Regions from separate parts of the Homo sapiens genome. Here all the other regions are linked to region 2. The links are contacts of gene promoters, found by promoter capture Hi-C in blood cells and fetal thymus (Javierre and others, 2016). All regions are on one chromosome and are shown on one strand. The core of a region is centred on a gene start or on the middle of the fragment in contact, and the rest is flanking DNA. Distances in the headings are between cores, read along the strand shown. Region 1 holds the start of TRPV6 (transient receptor potential cation channel subfamily V member 6). Region 2 holds the start of OR6V1 (olfactory receptor family 6 subfamily V member 1). Region 3 overlaps LOC105375541 (a long non-coding RNA gene). Region 4 overlaps LOC124901764 (a long non-coding RNA gene).

Region 1 (5,145 bases), core at 1,941-4,440, 170 kb after region 2:
TCACACAAGTCTTATTATTTTTGGAGCCTGGGAAAGGGAACCGGGAGAGGCCAGCCCCGTGAGTGCTCTCCCAGGATCTCCAGTCTCCCCCTCACCACCTTCACCCCAAAACTCACAGCCTCCTGGGCATGCCCACTCCTTGACTGTGGGTTACAGAACCGATTCCTCCCATGTCAGGAGGTGCTGCCCTGGGGTGGAGTGGCACAGAGGGGGCTGTGCTAGTCTCAAGGGAGAAGGAGGTCCACGGCATCCTTCCTGTCCCCTGGAAACAAGCAATATGGGATGCAGGTTTAAGATGTGAGACTGAGGCTGGACGCGGTGGCTCACACCTGTAATCCCAGCACTTTGGGAGGCCGAGGCAGGCGGACCACAAGGTCAGGAGATCGAGACCATCCTGGCTAACATGGTGAAACCCCGTCTCTACTAAAAATACAAAAAATTAGCTGGGCATGGTGGCAGGCGCCTGTAGTCCCAGCTACCCGGGAGGCTGAGGCAGGAGAATGGCGTGAACCCAGGAGGCAGAGCTTGCAGTGAGCCGAGATCACGCCACTGCACTCTAGCCCGGATGACAGAGCAAGACTCCATCTCAAAAAAAAAAAAAAATGCGAGACTGAAAGTGATTGGTGGGGGTGCTTTCAGGAGCTTCTGGGGGTAGTGCCACCTACCCTAGGGCCACCTTCCCTTACTGATACGATGTTAGGTCCAAAGACCAAGAGAACATTGCAGCCAGAAGCTTATATCCTGCAAACTTGTCCTCCCCTCCCATCTGGACACCCCAATTTTGAGTCTGTTGGCTGATCCATGCACAACACCAGGTGGAGGAGGCTGAGGAAGAGGAAGAGCATTGGAAAACAACTTTGTCCTCCTCCTATCCTCCTCCCTCCCTAAGTCTCCCTCCCAAAGCCTCCCTCCCCCAGCCTCTCTCCCCAGCGTAACGAAGGCCTCATTGCTTTCTCTCCTTCCCCACCAGACACTAAACTGGGGTCTTTGAAGCTAAATAGGTCTTTGAAGCGACAAACCACTGGCTTAATGGGCACAAAGGTCTTGGGGTTCAAGGTTTGGGTTCTAGCACCTTCCCCCAACCCAGCCCGAACCCACTGACCCAGGTGGGTGGGGACGAAGCTAATCCAATTGAACTGTTTGCTCAGGACTGCGTGGCCTGGCCTCTGCCCAGCGGCAGGAACACAAATAGCTTTCCACTTGAAGGGGTCCTTCTCTCCCCTGCCCTACCTCAGCATCCACCTCCCTCCACACACCGACTCCCCCCACACACAGCACATATGACACACACCCCATGACATACATACACACACAACACACACCATACATACACACATAGTAAACCCACCATACACTACACAAATCATGTATACACCACACACACACACACACATCATGTACACGCACACATACCTTAAAGGTACCATATACATCACCCACTACACACCATACACACAACACACATGCAACAATCTTTCCACAATACGTATATACACAACACACATGTCACACATACCATCACAGACACCACATCCACACGCTCTACAGGCCATACCTACACATATCACATATATCATACACACGTAGACACATACCAAACACACCACAGGCACATCATATACATACAGCATACCACACACAAAACACCCCACCGATGCACATCATGAACACACGCATAAACACCACACACAAATGCACATGGGCACACACGCCATACACACGCCACACACACACTCCCCTGGCTGGGTCTTCCAACTCTGAGTCAGAGAAAGTTAGGACAAAACAGACTCTGAAGCTAGGAAGTGATCCACACACCTGTGACTCTGAACACCCAGACACCTGCCCCTAGGCTATTGGCACCTGGCTGGCACCAGGAGGTTGGATAAGCCCGGGCTTCTGCCCCTTTCCAGTGGAAAAGTTGAACTAAATGACCTTTCCGACAGCTTCCAGCAAGCTCATGATGGAGCTCTTTGTTGTGGGAAGACGATGGGCCATGCTTAATGCCATCATTCTTCTGTATGACTGTGCGAGTCACTTAACCTCTCTGAAGCTCTGTTGGCCAGTTAGAATGAGGAGGTGTGCTAGGGAGAAAGAAGTGGGCTTGGAATGAGGGATGGGTGTGAATCTTGCCTCTGCCACCTCTATGGCCTTGGGAGAGTTCCTTTACCATGGTGAGCTTTGGTTTCTCCCATCAATACAATGTAGATAATAATACCTGCCTTGCAGGTTTGTTACGAGTTTACCTGGGAACGCTCAGTTAAAAGGCCCAGCACACAGTAGCAGCTGAATGTCACCTCCACGGGAAGGCTGGCAGATAGAATACTTGCAAAACGTGGGGTATATTTATACTAAAAAATTCTTTGTTGTTTATCTAAAATTCAAATTTGACCACGTGTCCTGTATTTTATCGGGCACCCACCCCATGCACGGGGCATTGTGGACAGTCTGTGGAGCTCCTGAGCAGGGGGTCTGCCCAGAGCTAGATTTTGTGCCCTGGCTGGTGAGCGAAGAATGCATTTTACATCTTTGGGGGTGGTTAGAAAACAACCACCAAAACAAAACCAAAGAATAACGTACATTAGAGAGTGTACATGGCTTGCAAAACCTAACATCTTTACATTTCCTATCAGCCCTTCCAGAAAAAGTTTGCTGACCCAAAGGTGATGGGGACTGAGAGGAAAGTCTGGGAGAACTGAGTATCTTCGCAATTTATATACCTATTTCAGGCCTGGCAAGAATGAAACTGGAAGAGTCCAGAAAATGGAATTCTCCAGGACATAAGCAGGGGGAGGCAGAGAGTGAGGCAGGTGGTCGGCAGAAGAGGCACTGTGGGAAAGTGGGGCGCTCCCTCCTGGGAGTCCTCAACATTGGGAATGGGCCTGCCCTGACTCCTCCCCTCCTTTCTCACTGCCTAGAGTCTCTCAGGGTAGGTCACTGGGTGTTCTGACGTCCAAGGGAGGCCTCGCCAGTCTTTCTGAAGGCCTCCCTGGTTGTGACTGGCCTGGGGGCAGGGAGAGAGCCCTGGGTGGAGAAAGAATTGGAGTTGGCACAAGTCCCCCTTGGTAGGCAGGTCTGTGGCTGGCCTGTGTCTTTAAATCTCAGGTAATTTGGGAGGAGGGAGGGCGTGTCCGTGCAGCTTTGGCTCCTCCTGCTCACTCCCAGCAGGAGCTCCAGACAGGCCAGCCCTGCAGAGTCCTGGCTGGCTCTGCCAAGTGTAACAAACTCACAGCCCTCTCCAAACTGGCTGGGGCTGCTGGGAGACTCCCAAGGAACTCGTCAGGAAGGCAGGAGACAGGAGACGGGACCTCTACAGGGAGACGGTGGGCCGGCCCTTGGGGGGGCTGATGTGGCCCCAAGGCTGAGTCCCGTCAGGGTCTGGCCTCGGCCTCAGGCCCCCAAGGAGCCGGCCCTACACCCCATGGGTTTGTCACTGCCCAAGGAGAAAGGGCTAATTCTCTGCCTATGGAGCAAGTTCTGCAGATGGTTCCAGAGACGGGAGTCCTGGGCCCAGAGCCGAGATGAGCAGAACCTGCTGCAGCAGAAGAGGTAAGGCCCCCTTGGTCTGCTCCCTTCCCCACCTCCCCAGGCCTGCACCTCTACCCCTCACCCCTCCCTCACCTCCCGTCTTTGTTTGGCACCTTTGGCTGGACAGATGGTGCTCCCAGGCCCGGACTGGCTCCTTGGGAGCATTCTGTCTTAAGAGCCTCAGCCTGTAGGGCTGGTGAAAGAGGATGGGGTTGAGATGGGCACAGGTGTTCACTATCTTAAGATCTAATTCGATTCTGCAAGCCTCTTGTGAGTACTTCTCTAAGGGCCAGGCGTCTTGCTGGGGCTTGTAAGGATAGAGCATCACAGCCCCTCCACCCAAGAGGGGACGGCAGGTGAGGACAATGCCTTCTGTATCTCCACTGCTTGCCTCTAGAACAGTCTCTCTGGCAGGAACACATAGTATACATATGTTCGCATGGAGGAATGAGTGAACGATTGAATGAATGAAGCAGAGAGAACCGCGGACACCAGGAACCAGAAAATAAGACAAAATGTGAAAAAAGTGACCATTCCTATGTATCTGTCTCATCAGACACTGACCAAGGCCTTACTATTTGCCCAGCACTGGGGGGATATGAAGACCTACAACGCTCAAACCCAACCTTGAGGTGTATTTCTCTCTCAGTGCGGGTGGGGACTGAGGGGAAGCGGGTCAAAATAACAGATGTTCCGAGGACCTGTGCTCTTCCGCATTCAGGTGGTGGAAATCGAGACTCTAGCGTTTAAGCCCTAAGGACATTCACTGGTGGCTTCCAGCCCCTGAAAACTTCCTAAACCCGTGTCCTGCTTTCTTCACCATGACAGCTTGGAGTACAGAGCAGGAGAGGAGCAGGGAATCGGAACTCAGGGCTATCCCTGCATGTGGTCTCTTCTTCAAGGTCTCTAATAGAGTTCTCTACCCAGTTGGTGGCATGCTAGAAGGAAGTCCTGCCTGTTGGGGCTTTCCCTGGGTCACGAAGGAGGCAGATGTCTGGTCATAGAGGAAAGCCTGAAGTCTTTGTGCCTTAGGGTTTTTCTCTGACCCCAAGAGTAGGAGCCTGCTTTAGCCTGACCGGGGAGGCTGCCTGGAGGCCCCTGTGTTTTCTTTTGCTGAAGGATTCTGGGTTGGGGATGGTCTCTTTCTGTGAATTATGGCTTCCCATCTCTCCAGCCGCCCACCTCTCCCCCAAGGCCTGGGAGAGTGGGGACTGGAGCACATGTTTGGCTGATGACATCTTGGGGCAACAGAATGGCATTGTTGTTAGAGAGTAGGTCGTCCTCACTGGCTTCACTCATCCTCTTCCCACTCTTAGGACCCCAGGGCCAGGGGATCCAGGCACAGAGTGCAAAAAGGCCTGGGGGATTGGAAGGGGTGGTGGAGATTCCCTGTGTGCGATATCAGGGGAGAGCAGAGGGGAGGCCCTGCGCTGAGTGGCTGAGAATAGGCTGCTTCCGCATGTCCTGTCTGCCCTCACTTTTCCTCAGATCATATGGGGGCTGCCTCTGCAGACTTTGGCTAGAAAGGCTTGATGTCACCCTTGGGAGGGATCCCCCCTCCCTGCCCTGATCTCCTTACTGGCCTCCGCACTTTCTTGGCCTTCTTCTTGCTGGATATCA
Region 2 (5,124 bases), core at 2,173-4,672:
AAGGGGTTACTAGAATTGTTGCCATTACAAATCTACAAACTTGTAGAATCTTGATAGATATGTGCTCAGTAAGGGTCTAGAGGAGGCAAAACTGAGCAGCTTCAGATCCTGGAGGTTCCAACTTTGAATTAACCCAACTTTTAATTCAGATGGAAGAAGAAAATTCCAAAGATGGGGAGATGGAAAAAAAGGTTTGAAGAACCAGATCCTGCTGTCGGTTCTGCAATTTCTTTGACCAACTCATTCTTCCTCTCAGCCATGTTTCCCTTACCCGCTAAAGCGGGTCGGGAACACCGCTTGCTGCAGTTTCAGAATCAGAAATTTTCCTTCCGAGCTCTCATACTCTATAGGAAAACACCTTATTGAAATTAACCACACTTTTAAATTTCTCTCAGTACATGGAACCCCTTGAGGTCAGACTCCTCATTTCTTTCATCTTTAACAGCCACTGCTGAGTGGAGTGTTTTGCTCATGATGGGTGATCAGTGAATATTTATTTAACTGAATTACTATGAGGGTAAAACCAAATGGAAAATATATGTAAAAGTGGTTCATAAAGTATGAAAAGTATACAAAAGTAAGATATTGTTAGTAGAATTATTCTTAATTTACTCATCCTTCTTTCATTTACTCTACAAATACTTTTCTAGGTAGCAAGCAGAGAATAAACAGAGGAAAAAAACATCAATTCATTCAATAGCAACTGCAAACAACAGAATCATTGCTCTGTTATGTAATTAAAGAACAAGCAAAATTTTGGTCCAGAAACTGAAACTGGGAATGTGAAAAGACCCTCCGACTTGGCTAAGGGGTATCTCAGCAAGAAAGAAAGACACTTTCAGAAAGCCAGAGAAAGGGATGCCTCGTTTAGGAAGGAGTTAGCTTGGGGTAAGAGGAGGTCACAAGGAGAACCAATGGGTTGGTAAGCAAGCTGCATCTCTCAAGCTCCAAATGAGCTTACCTCATTCATTTCCACATAGTGGATTTTTTAAATGCTTGACATTTGTGATAAATTAGTAGTTTTATTGTTTTCAAGTAAGTGTAGCTACGAATAAACTCCTGGTTGTAGTTTATATATCACAAATTGGGATATGGAGTTTGGTAAATTAAAGTGTACTTACAGAAACAGTGTGTCAAAACAACTTAAATTGGGGCTACTTTAGAAAATTCTGCATGGGCAAAAGCTAAGGGAACACCATGATCCTGAGGTCAAAGTAACTGGAAGATTTTAAAAATTTCAGGCTATAGTTGGAGGAGGGAGGACAGTGGAGCTGATGTTTAACTCCAAAGGCAGCATGGGACATAATAGATTTTCAAGAATTTTATACCCACACGTATGTGAATGTAATATAATGTTCATATTTTATGTAATGTACAATATAATATGTATGTGTGTAAAATAGGATATATAATCACTGAATAAGTGAACTTACTAGGTTTATTACAATCCCTTGCCTTTAGGCAAATGAATGTTTCTAATCATACAGGAGCAAAGTTTATTTTGTCTTTCTAAAACTCTGAATATTTCCTCTCTGGAAACCACATAATTCCTCACTAGCGGAGATTTATCTTGTTTTAATTTCTCTCTGTTTCATCTTTCTCTGATGCAAAGGTACCTGATGAATTGCACTCTCACAGTGTCCACCTTATAGTCAATGTGCTACTCAGGTGTCATCTTGTCAGGAAGCCGTCGCTGAGCCTCCTCCTGGTCTCAGTGTTGCTCCCCTGTGTGCTCATAATACCGTCTGTGAATCCACTGTTGCACGTTCCCCACTGTGCTGGAAACAGCTATTTATCACTTTTTCCTTCCTTAGGCCAAGAGCTTTGTCAGGTTAAGAACCATTTATGCCTTTTTTACCTTTCTACCCTCTACCTGTTACAGTGCCTGACACACACAGCCTACTCAATGTTGAAGAAATGAATGAATAAATGGATGAATAATTATACAAGGACCCAGTCCTCCTCCCAACACTCACACACACATTGAAAAACAATCAGTTTGTTTTTGGTAAGTTTTGCTTCTTCTCTTGATCCCATGTAGCCCAAGCACTTATGGTGCATACACTCAGCAGCAGTGCATACTGTGATAGAGAAGCACACCCGGAACATGCACACGCATACACACATATGTACACACATACACACCCATGCACACATACTGGGATTGGACACTACCTCTTGATCATAGAGCACTTCTTGGCTGCTCTTCCTTAAATGCAAAGCACATGCACTTCCCTTTACTGAAAGCTCTGGGCTACTCTCAGAGTTCTTACGGCTGCCAGGGGATGTAGGGAACTCTTCCATGGTGGTCCATAAGAGCTTTGGGCCAGACAGTGCAGCACTCAGGGCTCACTGTAGTTATTGCTCAGAGGGAAAAAAACTAAAGAAACTCAGCAGTGTTCTTCCCACTTGCTGGAGGTCTCCCTCCCCACAGAACTGCTCAATGGAGGCAGGCCAGGTTCCCCTGGGCCCTGGGCTCATCATTGTGCCTTGCAAAGGCCTTTCAGCCTCTGCATCTGCCCCTGTAGCACTGTTTTAACTGTCTGATTGCAGAAGGTAAGGATAAAGGGATTGAGAAAGGGGGTGAGAACTGAAGTCACCAAGGCCACGACCTTCCTGACTTGCACAGAGTGAGCTTTGCCAGGCCTGACATACAGAAAGATGGTACTACTGTAGCCGATGAAGACCAGTGTGAGGTGAGACCCGCAAGTGGAGAAAGCCTTCTGGCAGCTGCTGGCAGAGGGGATCCGCAGCACAGTGGTCACTATGTAGCCATAGGAGATGAGGGTCACCAGGAAGGAGCTGAGGACAAAGGTCAAGGCCATCAGAAAGTCCCAGAATTCCAACAGGCGAGTGTCAGAGCATGACAACTGCAGGAGAGGTTCATTGTCACAGAAGAAGTGGTTGATGACGTCGCCATGGCAGTAATCAAGATGAGCTCGGGAGAGGACAGTGGGTACCATGGCTAGGAAAGGAGCTGCCCAGGCAGCCCCAGCCAGCTGGACACACATAGCCCGGCTCATCAGAGTGCCATAGCGCAGTGGGTGGCAGATGGCCACAAAGCGATCAAGGGCCATGTCTGTCAGGATGAGGAAGGAGGTGGACCCCAGGGAAAAGTGGAAGTAGAACTGGACCATGCAGCCAGTGAAGGTAATGACTTTGTGGGGGACCAACAGGTCTGAGAGCATCCTGGGCACTGCAGTCATGGTTACCAAGATCTCCAGCAGGGAAAAATTGCCCAGGAAGAAGTACATGGGTGTATGTAGGTGGGTGTCAGCTATGACCATAACTATGATGATGGTGTTTCCCATGAAGGCGAGAAGATAAAGCATGAGGAAGGGGCCATACAGAAGGGCCTGCAGCTCACCAAAGGAGGAGAAGCCCAAGAGGACAAATTCGGAGGGCTGGCTCAGATTTGCCATGATCCACAGTATGGGGCCCTGCATGCAAGAGAAACAAAAGACAGACGGAGAGGCAGAAACAGAGAGATAGAGACAGAGAACCATTGAACTTGAAACAGAAGAAACAGGGACAGAGACAGAGAATAGAGAGAGAAAGGCAAGTAGCCAGCGAGTGATAAACAGAAAAGCAGAAAGAAACGGCAATAAAGAAAGATAACAAAACAGGAATGGGAGAGTCAAGGAGAAACAGAGTGAGGGTATGAGAGAAGTGAAAGACATAGAAAGCCATTATTAAGAAGAGAGAAGGCTGGGGATGGTGGTTCATGCCTGTAATCCCAGCACTTTGGGAGGCCGAGGCAGGGGGAACACTTGAGGTCAGGAGTTCAAGACCAGCCTGGCCAACATGGTGAAACCCTGTCTCTACTAAAAATACAAAAATAAGCCAGGTGCAGGCAACTGTAATCTCAGCTACCTGCAAAACTGAGGCATGAGAATCGCTTGAACCTGGGAGGTGGAGGTTGCAGTGAGCCGAAATCGTGCCACTGCACTCCAGCCTGGGTGACAGAGTGAGACTCCATCTCAAAAAAGAAAAAAAAAAAGGGGGGGAAGAAAGAAAAACAGAGGAAAAGATTAAGGAAGACCACATGGCAACAGACATTGACATTTAGGGAGAAAACAAGAAGGAAACAACAGAGGACCAGAGAAAGAACAGAAAAAATTCAAATAGAGAAATACAGGAAGGGGAGGAACACAGAAAAAGAGAGGGAGAGAGAGCATTAGTGCATGTGACCCAGAAGCCCCCAAATGTAGGCTAATCCGTCTATGTCACACCCAGAGGTTGTGCCCCAAGACCCTTTTTAAAGGGTCCCTGCAAACCTTTCTGAGCTGCCTCTCTGAGGACCCTCGCTTGTGCACATTTCTCCGGCTATGATCATGAAATTAGTGAAAGTCAGAGTTTTGAGTCCAGAAATTAACTTCCTTTAGAGGAGACCTCTGCTTCGTGTTTGCAAAGATGGAGAGCAGAAAGGGTGCAGCAGGTCAGGGAGCGAGCCTGGAAATCCAAGTGGCTGCTCTCCCAGGACACACACAGTCATCAGGCTTCCCAACGGCATAATCTGTCTACCCAAGGGTGCTGCTTTGCCGTCTCCATTGCACTTCCCCTCCCGCCGTGGTGCAAAGTGTAAGCTATGGAGTTGGCTTGCCTGTGTTTGAATTCTGGCTCTAGACTTGCTTGTCACGGGCCGTAAATCTGCTCTTCTTTGTTACTTACTCTCTCTGAGCCCGTTTATTCAGCTGTAAAATAATGGTATTACTGGTACTTAGCCTCTATGGTGATTATAAAATTAAATAAGTAAACTACTTAGTGCAGTGACTAGCACATACTAGCCAACAAATCGTTGTTGTTATTGTTATCACTGTTCTTATTGTTAGACCGTCAATAGAACTCAAATTTTTTTTGCCCATCATCTCTCTACACTTCTTCTCATTGCCAGCATGTGTGTGTGTGAAGATCTTTACAGCTTTACACTGTTTCTTGGAATTTCAGTTCACTAAAAGGGTACTTTAAAACATTTCAAACACAAACAAAGTATTTACAACACAAACTGTCAGGAGTGGAAGGAGTGAAGCTGTGTGTAGATATACTCTGGCCCTTTCTCCAGCCCCATAAATGCTTCATTTGGGGTTGTGTCCTGGCCACACAGCAATGACATTCTAATTTTAA
Region 3 (4,857 bases), core at 935-3,434, 230 kb after region 2:
GTGTACAGCAAATTTGCTTCCCGCGACTGGGGTGATCCGCTTCTGAGAATTCTCCTCAATGCCCTCTGTGTTAGGAGGTCTCCCACTCTGGTTGATGGAAGCACCATCTTTTCCCGGCCCCGTGTGGACTTTGAGATGGTTCTGCTTGATCCATCGAGTGGTCTCTCCCTAGCCTCAGGTTGTTTTCTTGTACTCACTGGTCAGAGCAGTTGAAGAGTCACTGGGAGTCCAATGCACATTCCAGAGCACTTCCCACCCACCGCTTTCTCCTCCCTGGGTCTCTTCCCTGGAATTTTAGCCATTTTGGCCTCCTCAAACCCTGAATGCAAGTCTCCTTAACTCAGAGAGACTGCCAGGCGCTGTTTGGGCTTCTCCTCCCTATAATACTGCCTGAAAAAGATCTCCAGGCTATAAACTGAGGCCATCACAGGGTTCACTTTATTCATTTCACTTCTTTCAGGGATCACGGTCTTGAGCCATCTGTTGTCCAGAGTTTCATATATTTCATGCATTTTAATTGTTTCAGGTTTGAGGGTAAATTCAGCCTCTGTTACCCCATCATAGAATTCCCTCAGACACAGATGTGTTAAGCTTTAGGAAATTCTACTGTAACCTATCTTCATGTATTCTCTTCCTCTCCCTTTAGGTTCATCTTCTTACTGTTCTTCACCGATGTCCTGTACTTTCAGCCTCTGTACCTTTGGTCATTTCTGTACCATTCATCCTTTCTTGCCTTTTAATGTCATTTTTATCAGTCTAAAACCCTATGACTTCTCAAGGACCATCTCAGAGTCTGTCTCTTATGTGAAAGTTAAACTGAGCCTCATACCTGAAAGTAATCTCTTTCATAAACAAACTTTTTTGAGCTTATCCTGCTTGGGTTTTGCTAAGCTTCCTGGATCTGTAGGTGGATATTATTTATCATGTATGAAACATTTTGGCCACTATTTTAAAAATAATTGTTTTCTGCCACCACTTTCTCTCCTCTATGTTGAAGACTCCAATGATATGTGTGCTAGGTGGCTTGATATTGTTTGGGAGTTCCCTGAGACCTCTTCCAGTTTTTGTAGTTGTTTAGCTTTATTTTCCTCTCTCTTGTTTTGACAGTTTCTGTTGTCCTGATTTCCTGTTCATAGACATTTCTCCTATAGTGTCTACTCCAACTTAAGCTTATCTAGCAAAATTTTCATTTCAGATATTTTTCAGATCTAGAAGTTCTATTTAGCTTTTTTATAGTTTCTGTTTCATTCTTCATTATGTTGTGTTTCACTATAAATCCTTGAACATATTTAATAATAGCCATTTTAGTATATTAGCCATTTATAAGTCCCATTATTTTAATTTACCATCTCTGCCATTTCTGGGTTGATTTCAATTGCCTAATATTACTACTTAGCATAGACACATTTTCCAGCTTTTAAGTATATCCCATAATTTCTGACTGGATGCTCAACATTATGAATGTTACTTTTTTATTATCTGAATTTTGTTTTCTTCTCTCAAAGAGTGTTGAGCTTTATTCTAGTGGGCAGTTGACTTGCTTGCAGGTCAACTTGTCTGCTTTTCCTTTCAAGGGCTCTTTTAAGCTTTGTTAGGGTTAATGGACGGTAGACTTATTCTATGCCATTTGAGTCCTACTCTAAGTTATGGGCTTCCTGGGATACCTGTTCAATGTTCCAGGTATTCAACAAAGCTATTCTGATGGCTCAGAGCTGTATCTCTCTCAGCCTCGACCAAGATCTAGTAATTATTCATACTGTAGTTCACCAGCAGTTGTTAATTCTCCAGTACTTATTCTTTGCCTGCCCCTGTGGAGTTTCACCCAATGGATGCCAGCTTAGTATTTACCCAAAGACTCAATGAGACCTCATGAAAATTGCGGGGCTCTTTCCGTGCATGGCCTCCTCTTCTCTGAGCTGTGTCCTCAGCTCAGTAAGAATTTCAGGGTGCCATGCTCTGCTTGGGTCCCTCTTGTTTGTACAGTAACCCAGGAAATTCTGGGTAGAAAACGGAAATGATCACAGCACGCACCTCATTTGTCTCCTTTCACTTATGGATCACAGTTTTGTGCCATCTCTTGTCCAATATTAGAAAACAATTATCTCACGTATATTGCCCAGTTTTCTAGGTGTTTATTATTGGAGGGTATAATGGATTGAATTATACCCACCATCCCCCCAGAAAAAGATATGTTGACATCCCAACCCTCAGTACCTCAGAATGTGACTCTGTTTGAAAATAGGGTCATTGCAAGTGTGACTAGTTAAGATGAGGTCATACTGGAGCACTGTGGACTCCTAATATGACTGATGTACTTGTAAGAAGACAGCCGTGGGAAGACAGAAACACACAGGGAAAATGCCATGTAATGCCAAAGGCAGAGTTTAAAGTTATGTAGCTGCAAGTTAAGGAATGTCAAAATTTGCCAGCAAATCAACAGAAGCTAGGAATAGGCAAGGAAGAATTTCCTTCCAGGTTTCAGAGGAAGCATAGCTCTGTTGATACCTTGATTTTAGACTTCTAGGCTCCAGAACCATGAGACAATAAATTCTGTTGTTTTAAGTCACCCAGTTTGTGGTACTTTATTACAGCAGCTCAAGGAGAATTACAAAGTGGATGGATTGAGTACAAGTTCCTTCATCGTAAGTGGAAGCAGAAGTTCCTAACTCTTTTAGTATTTGTCATCTGAACTACTTTTCTATCTTTTACCTCCTCCAATAGATAAGTTATTAGAAGGCAAATATTGCTTCTTGATTTTTTGTTTTCCGTCTATCTAAGCTTGAATTTTATGTGCACGTAAGGTAGATGTGAAATTCATGGGCATCAAATATGGGTGGGTAAAATATAATTTTGTTTTCTATAATTAAAATTATTCTATATCTAGATCCTTGTTGCATTGGGGTACACATGATTAATTCAGGGGTTTCTCAGACAATTCATGCTTGTCTCCCTTTCCTTTTCTCCCCGGGTAGTGTCTAAATTCCAGGGTGCTTATAAAAGCGCTTGTCAAAGCATTGTGGGGAAGGTACTTGGTCTTTGGTCATCATTTAACTTTCCTTCATGACTCTCATTTGCACCATCATCAGCACCTGTCCCCACTGATATCTGCTGATCCTCGGTGTGTCTGTCTGTCTGTCCTTCAGGTTGTTTTGATCCACGGCGGGTACACTGTGCCTTACACATTTCAAACACGATGTCTCTTCAGGCTTGATGGCTTCTCTCAGTTAATCTGTTTCCCTGTGAATGAGAAAATGGCTATTCCTGATCTATCCTGAGATCTTTGGGGATTCTTGGAGACTACCTCAGGTCCCTCTGTTAAGACACATTCTAGAGCCATGTATGTTTTCCACTGCTGCTCTAATAAATTACTACAGACTTAGTGGCTTAAAACAACACAAACTTATTATCTTACAGTTCTGTAACTCTGAAGTCTGACACAGGTTTCACCGAGTTAAAATCAAGCTGTCAGCTAGGCTGCATTCTTCCCTGAGGGCTCTAGAAGAGAACCCATTTCCTTACCTTTCCTAGCTTCTAGAGGCCACCTTCATTCCTTAGCTCATGCCCCCTTCTACCTCCAGGGCCAGCAGCATGGCATCTCTCTTGCCTGCTTCCATGTCCACATCTCTTTCTTTGACTCTCTTCTGCTTCCTTCTTCCATGTTGAAGATGCTTGTGATTGTATGGGGCACACCTGATTAATTCTGACTACTCTCCCTGTTCTAAGGGCATCCAATTAGAAACCTTAATTCCATCTTCAACCTTAATTCCCCTTTGCCATGTAATCTAACACATGCACAGATTCTGGGGATTAGAATGTGGACATCCTTGGGAGCCATTATTCTGCTGACCACAAGTCATTTCTACTTACCAGTCTCTAGCCAGTATGACATGTAGGGACCCAGGACCTTGTTCGTCTCATTCTGGAAATAAGCACAATTTTCCTCTGCCGTCAAAACTTTTGAATTTCCATTTCTTCTCTCTCCACCTCTCTCTCATCCCTTTCCTTGATCAGGATGTGGATAAGAAGAGGTAAGTCACAATTCAGGGCATTCAGGAGCATCTAATTGGCTGACTCTCCCTTCTTTCCATTAGCCCAGGTAATTTTTAACTCTTCTGTAGAGGAACAAATAGGCTTTGCAAGTATCTTCCATTCCTATTATATAGGAATATATACCAGTTTTAAAATTAAAAAGACGAGTTAGTTCTTATTGCCATTCTCTTCATGTATAAAGCTTTCTCTTGTTGGCAGCAATTCATTAAGAATCTAGTATGGAGGGAAAAAGCTGAAGATGGTAACAAAAAGACTTGAAAAGAGGCTTGCCAGAGAGGTGGACACGTTAAGATGACCAGGACATGTTAAGATGACAGTTCCAGCCAGCTTTCAATTCCGTAGGGCACCTCCAGACCCAGGCCAGATGTGCGGCCAGGACTCTCCCATTAGTAGATCTACTGCCACAGAGCAGAGGGATCATATCCCCATCCTCTTTTCAATACATGAATGACTTAAATGATTGAATAACTAAACAGTATTGCAGATGGGGATGGAGATTGAGGAGATTTTTTTAAAGGCATCAGCCATATGGAAGGAGCTTCCAGCTACTGAGCTGTGACAATGATCAGGAGCCAGGAGCCAGCTGGTTACTCTGATCTGACTGATACATCTCTTCACCCTCCAATCTGCTGCAGCATCTCTAAGAAGGAGGATTACATTGCTGTCTACATGTGGTAATGACACTGAGCTGATGCAGCTGATGAGTGAAGTCAGGTCTCATAGGATACGCTGGTGTTAAAGACTGCCAGCCAGAGGAAAACGTGATGCGGTACCCTTGAGAACAAGAGCAATTCTCATTCTTTCTCC
Region 4 (4,992 bases), core at 1,545-4,044, 150 kb before region 2:
TCATTTGTTCTCTAGCCAAGACCCCAAGTCTATAATGATCAAGAGGGTTGTTTTATTTTTGACAAGTGGAAACCCACATGTTTCTGAAAAGTGGAGTGGTGGTGGTGGTGGTGGTGGTAGCATAATCTGGAAGACCCCTAAAGAAGGCAGTGCTACCTGCCATATTTGACTTGGGGGTCAGAGCGAGAGTCTGAGTTGGAGAGTTGGGAAGCTAGAAAAATGAAGGACTAAAGTAAGAGATATTCCTTATTTCTCCTTTTCCTTTTCCACATATCTTGAGAAAGAGAAAGGTTTTTAGTTCAGCAGAAAATGGGAGATGCTGGGGCAGAGATAAAAATGCTCCCCAAACATGGCAGGGACTTCCTTGTATTTCTCGTTCTCCTTGTAGTTAGGTTGAGCTAAAGGAGATGCTACTAATGAAATTTGAAATCTTAGGGTCAGACATGTGGGAATGCACTGCCTACCCTTCCATCTTGGCAGTGACACGGGCTCATTCCCCCCAGTTTCCAGAGCTGTGTCCTTTTCATTCCTCTTTCCAAATCCACCTCCACTCAAGCTTTCAATCTGTGCCTGGGCTCTGGTTTGAATGAGCCACTGATATATTTGCAGCCACCGGGGATCTGGAGTGCAGATGCAAATGGCAGTGTTCCCTGGTAAGTGTTGGTGACAATTGGATCTTTCTCTGATTTGCATTCCCAAGGCCTGCAGGTTTTCAGAAAATCACATCTTATAGGCAGTTCTGGGGAGGGGGGAGGTTTATTTTCAATGTCAGCTACAAATGCCGGCCCATGATAATTCTTAGAATGAAAGACCTCTCATTTGCAAAGGAGAGGATAGTTAGAGCCAGAACAATTCACTTAGCAAAAATTTGGGCCCAAAAATATATATATAGGAGAAGGGATTGTTGGTGGGTAGAGAGGCCTGGAGATCAAGAGCAAGAGATGAGATAAACACAAGTTTGGAAGCCATTGGCTTGTGAGGGGACCTGAGCACTTAGAATAGAGGAGACCCCTCAGGGAGAGCTTGTATGGAGAGAGAGAAAGGTGCATCCTGACCCCATCCTGGGCATTTCTCTTTGAAACTCAGCCTTGTTATAATTCATTTCTAATTCTGATATCAGCAGTGAGGGTTCATCTAATCTATTCTCATCACTTCTTGAGCCTCTCAGCTCTCACTGGTCCTGGCTCTTGCCTGGAGATGATTTTACTCAAAATTCTAGTCCAGGATTTAGAATTGGTCTAAGTACAGATGTGCATCAGGAGGCTATTTCAAAATCCCAGATGAGCTCATACATAAAGTAAGGATTAATTTTTTATTTTGTGAACCAATTGTGTAAAAAAAAAAAAAAACAACAATGCACATTAGGAAAGTAATTCATTTAATTTCCATGACCCAGCCCCTCCTGCCTACAAGCCCCCCTCCCCCATCCCATGCAATCCACCTCATAGGTAAAAACATATTCTGGGCAAACTGACTCATTTCATGTCACATTTATCCCACTCAAGTTTGTCCCTCCTGCTTTGAGCCTGGATTCCACGTAAAGGTGGAAGGTGATTTGGGCTGGTCTCCAGGCAGTCACCACCTGCAACCTATTTTCTTCTCATCACGACACCTACGTTCAGTGTCACCTTTTCTTCTCCCTTGGGCTGCCCCTTTCTTGCTCACTCCCATGTTCCAATGCCAGCAGCTCTGTCTTTGTGCTCAGCCATGCTTGTTGTTCAGCAGCATTCCTCATTAGAATCCCATTATTTGATGGTCAGAGTAGGGTCTCCATGGTGATACAGGCACAAGTGTAGCCAGTATTCTGCCACCGCATCTTACCTACTTGGCAGGCAAGCTAGAGTTGGCCTAAATTCTGCTTTTATCATTTATGTGTTTGTTCTTATGCTTTTAGGAAAAAAAAATCCTGAAATAATGGTGAAGGACAGCAAGTATTTGCCTAGAGTGCATGCTAAGAAGTCTCCATAGATGTTTTTCTTTAAGTATCCTGACCGCTTAACATATTGATGAAGACCTCTTATTTCCAGGTCAACAATCAGCTGTTACCAACTTAAGCTTTCTAAACATTTTCTGTGAAACAAATTTTTGCCAGTAAGAAAAGGAAATTGGGAGCTGCCACTGCTTAATTAATTTGAAGCTTTGATAAGCTTTGCCAGAGAGTCGCATAATAGAATTAGCAAGTTTCTTAACAGGTGAGAAAGCACATGAGCATAAACAAAAATAGGATAAGACTATCATCAATGGGGTTTATGCACCAGCTTAAAAAGCCAGTTTGGGGGACTTTTATGACTCTGAATTAAGATTTGTGCAATATAAGATTGTCCAGGATAAAATATTTTGGGCACCAAATATTAAGCTTCTGAAATAGACCCAGAGGTTCTTGTATGATAAAAAAAAAGTATGTATAAGGTTTTGATTTGATTTTTTAAATAATGTGTTCACTACTTCCCTTTCTTCTGAGACTCCATAGAGAAAAAAATATCATAACACTAAAGAGAAGGGAATGAGGATGGCCAAGAGCAGACTGGAGATTTCATCCTATTTCTTGGTTGTGGACAATCAGAAAAAGCATATTGTAGATGAAGTGGAGTAAAGGATGCTCAGAATATGCATGTCATGGGCCTCTGGGAATGTGGTGGCTGATCAGGCTGCTAGAAGCCTGGAGGGCCTTGGCTATCGGATTCCTAGCTTTGGATAGCAGGAGCGAGACATTGTGCAAAAACCAGAGGCATCATTAAAATTCTGTCTGCCATATAGCTGCATCATTGATGCTTTCCAGTGCCTTCCTTGCCACTGCATACAGAACCATCGAAAACCTTCATATTGAGAATTCTTTTCTAGAAAAATTGAATACATTTCCAAGGAAGAACTAGGGCTTCAAGTGCAGATATTTGCACATAGATTAAACCCTTTTTTTATTATGGCATTTTGAATTTCCAGGCTAATGTCAGATTCCACACCCACATACCTAAAAGAGGAGCCAGCCTGTCAAGGTGGCCCAGTTACAAAAGAGAGCTTCCAATCAGCCTTTCCATTCAGGAGACCGTTCTACTGGAGAATGATACCTGCTTACCCAAAACAGCCTTTCCTTTTCCTTCATGAATTACTAATCAAGGATGATCAGAAATAGGAACAAAATCCACAGCCTGAAAGAGAAAGACCAAGCTAAACACCAAGAGTGAATTACCCCTGAAGAAATAAAGATCAAAGAAGACAAAAAATTTAAGCTTGTGTCCTTAGAGGAGGCACAGAAGATATTGCCTCCATAAAATAAGAGAAGGATGCTATTAAAAATAAACAATTAAGAAATGAGAAGGTGAAAATGTAAATTAGTAAGTCATTATGGAAAACAGTATGGAAATTCCTCAACAGTTAAAAATAGAACTAGCCATATGATCCAGCAACCCCACTACTGAGTATATGTCCAAAGGAAATCACTGAGAGGTATCTGAACTCTCAATGTTTATTGCAGCACTGTTTACAAGAGTCAAGATATGGGATCAACCTATGTGTTCACCAATGGGTGAATAGAGAAAGAAAATGTGTTTTATATATACACAGTGGAATACTATTTAGACATAAAAAATAACTGGAATACGGCCTGCACAGTGGCTCACACCTGTAATCCCAGCACTTTGGGCGGCCAAGGCGGGCAGATTGCCTGAGGTCAGGAGTTCGAGACCAGCCTGGCCAACATGGTGAAACCCTGTCTCTACTAAAAATACAAAAATTAGCCCGGCGTAGTGGTGCATGCCTGTGATCCCAGCTACTTGGGAGGCTGAGGTAGGAGAATTGCTTGAACCCAGGAGGTAGAGGTTACAGTGAGCCGAGATTGTGCCACTGCACTCCAGCCTGGGCAACAGTGTGAGACTCTATCTCAAAAAAAAAAAAAATTGTAGTACTATCATTTGTGGCAACATGGGTAAACCTAGAGAACATTATTTTAAGTGAAATAATCCAGGCACAAAAAGACAAATACTGCATGATCTTACCAATATGTGGAATCTTAAAAAGTTGATCTCATAGAAGTAGAGAGTAGGATAGTGGTTATCAGAGGCTGGGGAAGATAGTGAGATTAGGGGGCAAATGGGGAGAGATTTGTCAATGACTACAAAGTTACAGTTAGATAGGAGGAATTAGTTCTGGTGTTCTATTGCACAGTAGGGTGACTATGTTAGTTAACAATGTTGTGTATTTCAAAATAGTTAGAAAGGTGGGGCACAGTGGCTCAAGCCTGTAATCCCAGCACTTTGGGAGGCCAAGGAGGGTGGATCACCTGAGGTCAGTTCAAGACCAGTCTGACCAACGTGGTGAAACCCCATCTCTACTAAAAAAATACAAAAGTTAGCCAGGCGTGGTGATGCATGCCTGTAATCCCAGCTACCTGGGAGGCTGAGGCAAGAGAATTACTTGAACCCGGGAGGCAGAGGTTGCAGTGAGCCAAGATTTCACCATTGCACTACAGCCTGTGCAATAGACAAACCAACAAACAGACAAACAAACAAAACAAACATCAAAATAGGAAAATTTTGAATGTTCTCACTGTAAAGAAATGATAATTATATGAGGAGATAGATATATTAAATATCCTGATTTGATGATTACACAATTTATACATGTATTAAAATATCACATTATACCTCATAAATATGAATAATTGTTAAATGCCAATTAAAAACAAAGTAAAAAAGACACAACAGGCTTTCAGATATTTAAAGTATGATTTAAAATTACATCCAGGCAATATATGATTATAGTAAAAACAAGATGAAGTCAAGGTAATCTCTCAGAATTCAGAGCAAAACTCAATCATGAAAAAGATAAAGGAAAAGATGAGAGACACAGTTGTTTAACCCAGGAGGTCTAAGATCTGACTGAAAGAAGTTTTAGGTAGTGAAGTTAGAGACAATGGAGGGAAAAACATTATTTTTTTTTTTAAATAGAAGAAAAAATTTCAGTGCCGACAAAAAACATGTTATTTTAATTGGTAAG

Evidence for each region. Contacts are between HindIII fragments. The CHiCAGO score rates a contact against its expected background, and 5 or more counts as called.
Region 1: the fragment with the promoter of TRPV6 here is called in contact with the fragment with the promoter of OR6V1 in region 2 in 5 of 17 cell types (erythroblasts, neutrophils, monocytes and 2 more); the score reaches 9.0 in erythroblasts.
Region 3: a fragment that was not itself captured here is called in contact with the fragment with the promoter of OR6V1 in region 2 in 1 of 17 cell types (neutrophils); the score reaches 5.1 in neutrophils.
Region 4: a contact is called between a fragment that was not itself captured here and the fragment with the promoter of OR6V1 in region 2, in 8 of 17 cell types (total B cells, naive B cells, M2 macrophages and 5 more). The highest score is 12.1, in total B cells.

What each region holds. Positions count from the first base shown.
Region 1 is chr7:142,883,790-142,888,934 of GRCh38, reverse strand. It overlaps TRPV6 (transient receptor potential cation channel subfamily V member 6), which reads left to right and starts at 3,190. Exons shown (of 15, transcript NM_018646.6): 1 at 3,190-3,546. The coding sequence starts at 3,299. The HindIII fragment of the contact is 18,692 bases long and covers 736-5,145 here.
Region 2 is chr7:143,050,639-143,055,762 of GRCh38, reverse strand. It overlaps OR6V1 (olfactory receptor family 6 subfamily V member 1), which reads right to left and starts at 3,422. Exons shown (of 1, transcript NM_001001667.1): 1 at 2,481-3,422. The coding sequence starts at 3,422. The coding sequence ends at 2,481. The HindIII fragment of the contact is 11,126 bases long and covers 1-5,124 here.
Region 3 is chr7:142,815,136-142,819,992 of GRCh38, reverse strand. LOC105375541 (a long non-coding RNA gene) reads right to left here. Exons shown (of 2, transcript XR_001745392.2): 1 at 3,868-4,857; 2 at 2,557-3,237. Among named protein-coding and RNA genes, the nearest start is that of EPHB6, 38 kb to the left of the region's middle. The HindIII fragment of the contact is 1,192 bases long and covers 1,589-2,780 here.
Region 4 is chr7:143,200,376-143,205,367 of GRCh38, reverse strand. It overlaps LOC124901764 (a long non-coding RNA gene), which reads left to right. Exons shown (of 2, transcript XR_007060567.1): 1 at 1-2,192; 2 at 2,941-3,312. Among named protein-coding and RNA genes, the nearest start is that of TAS2R40, 19 kb to the left of the region's middle. The HindIII fragment of the contact is 871 bases long and covers 2,359-3,229 here.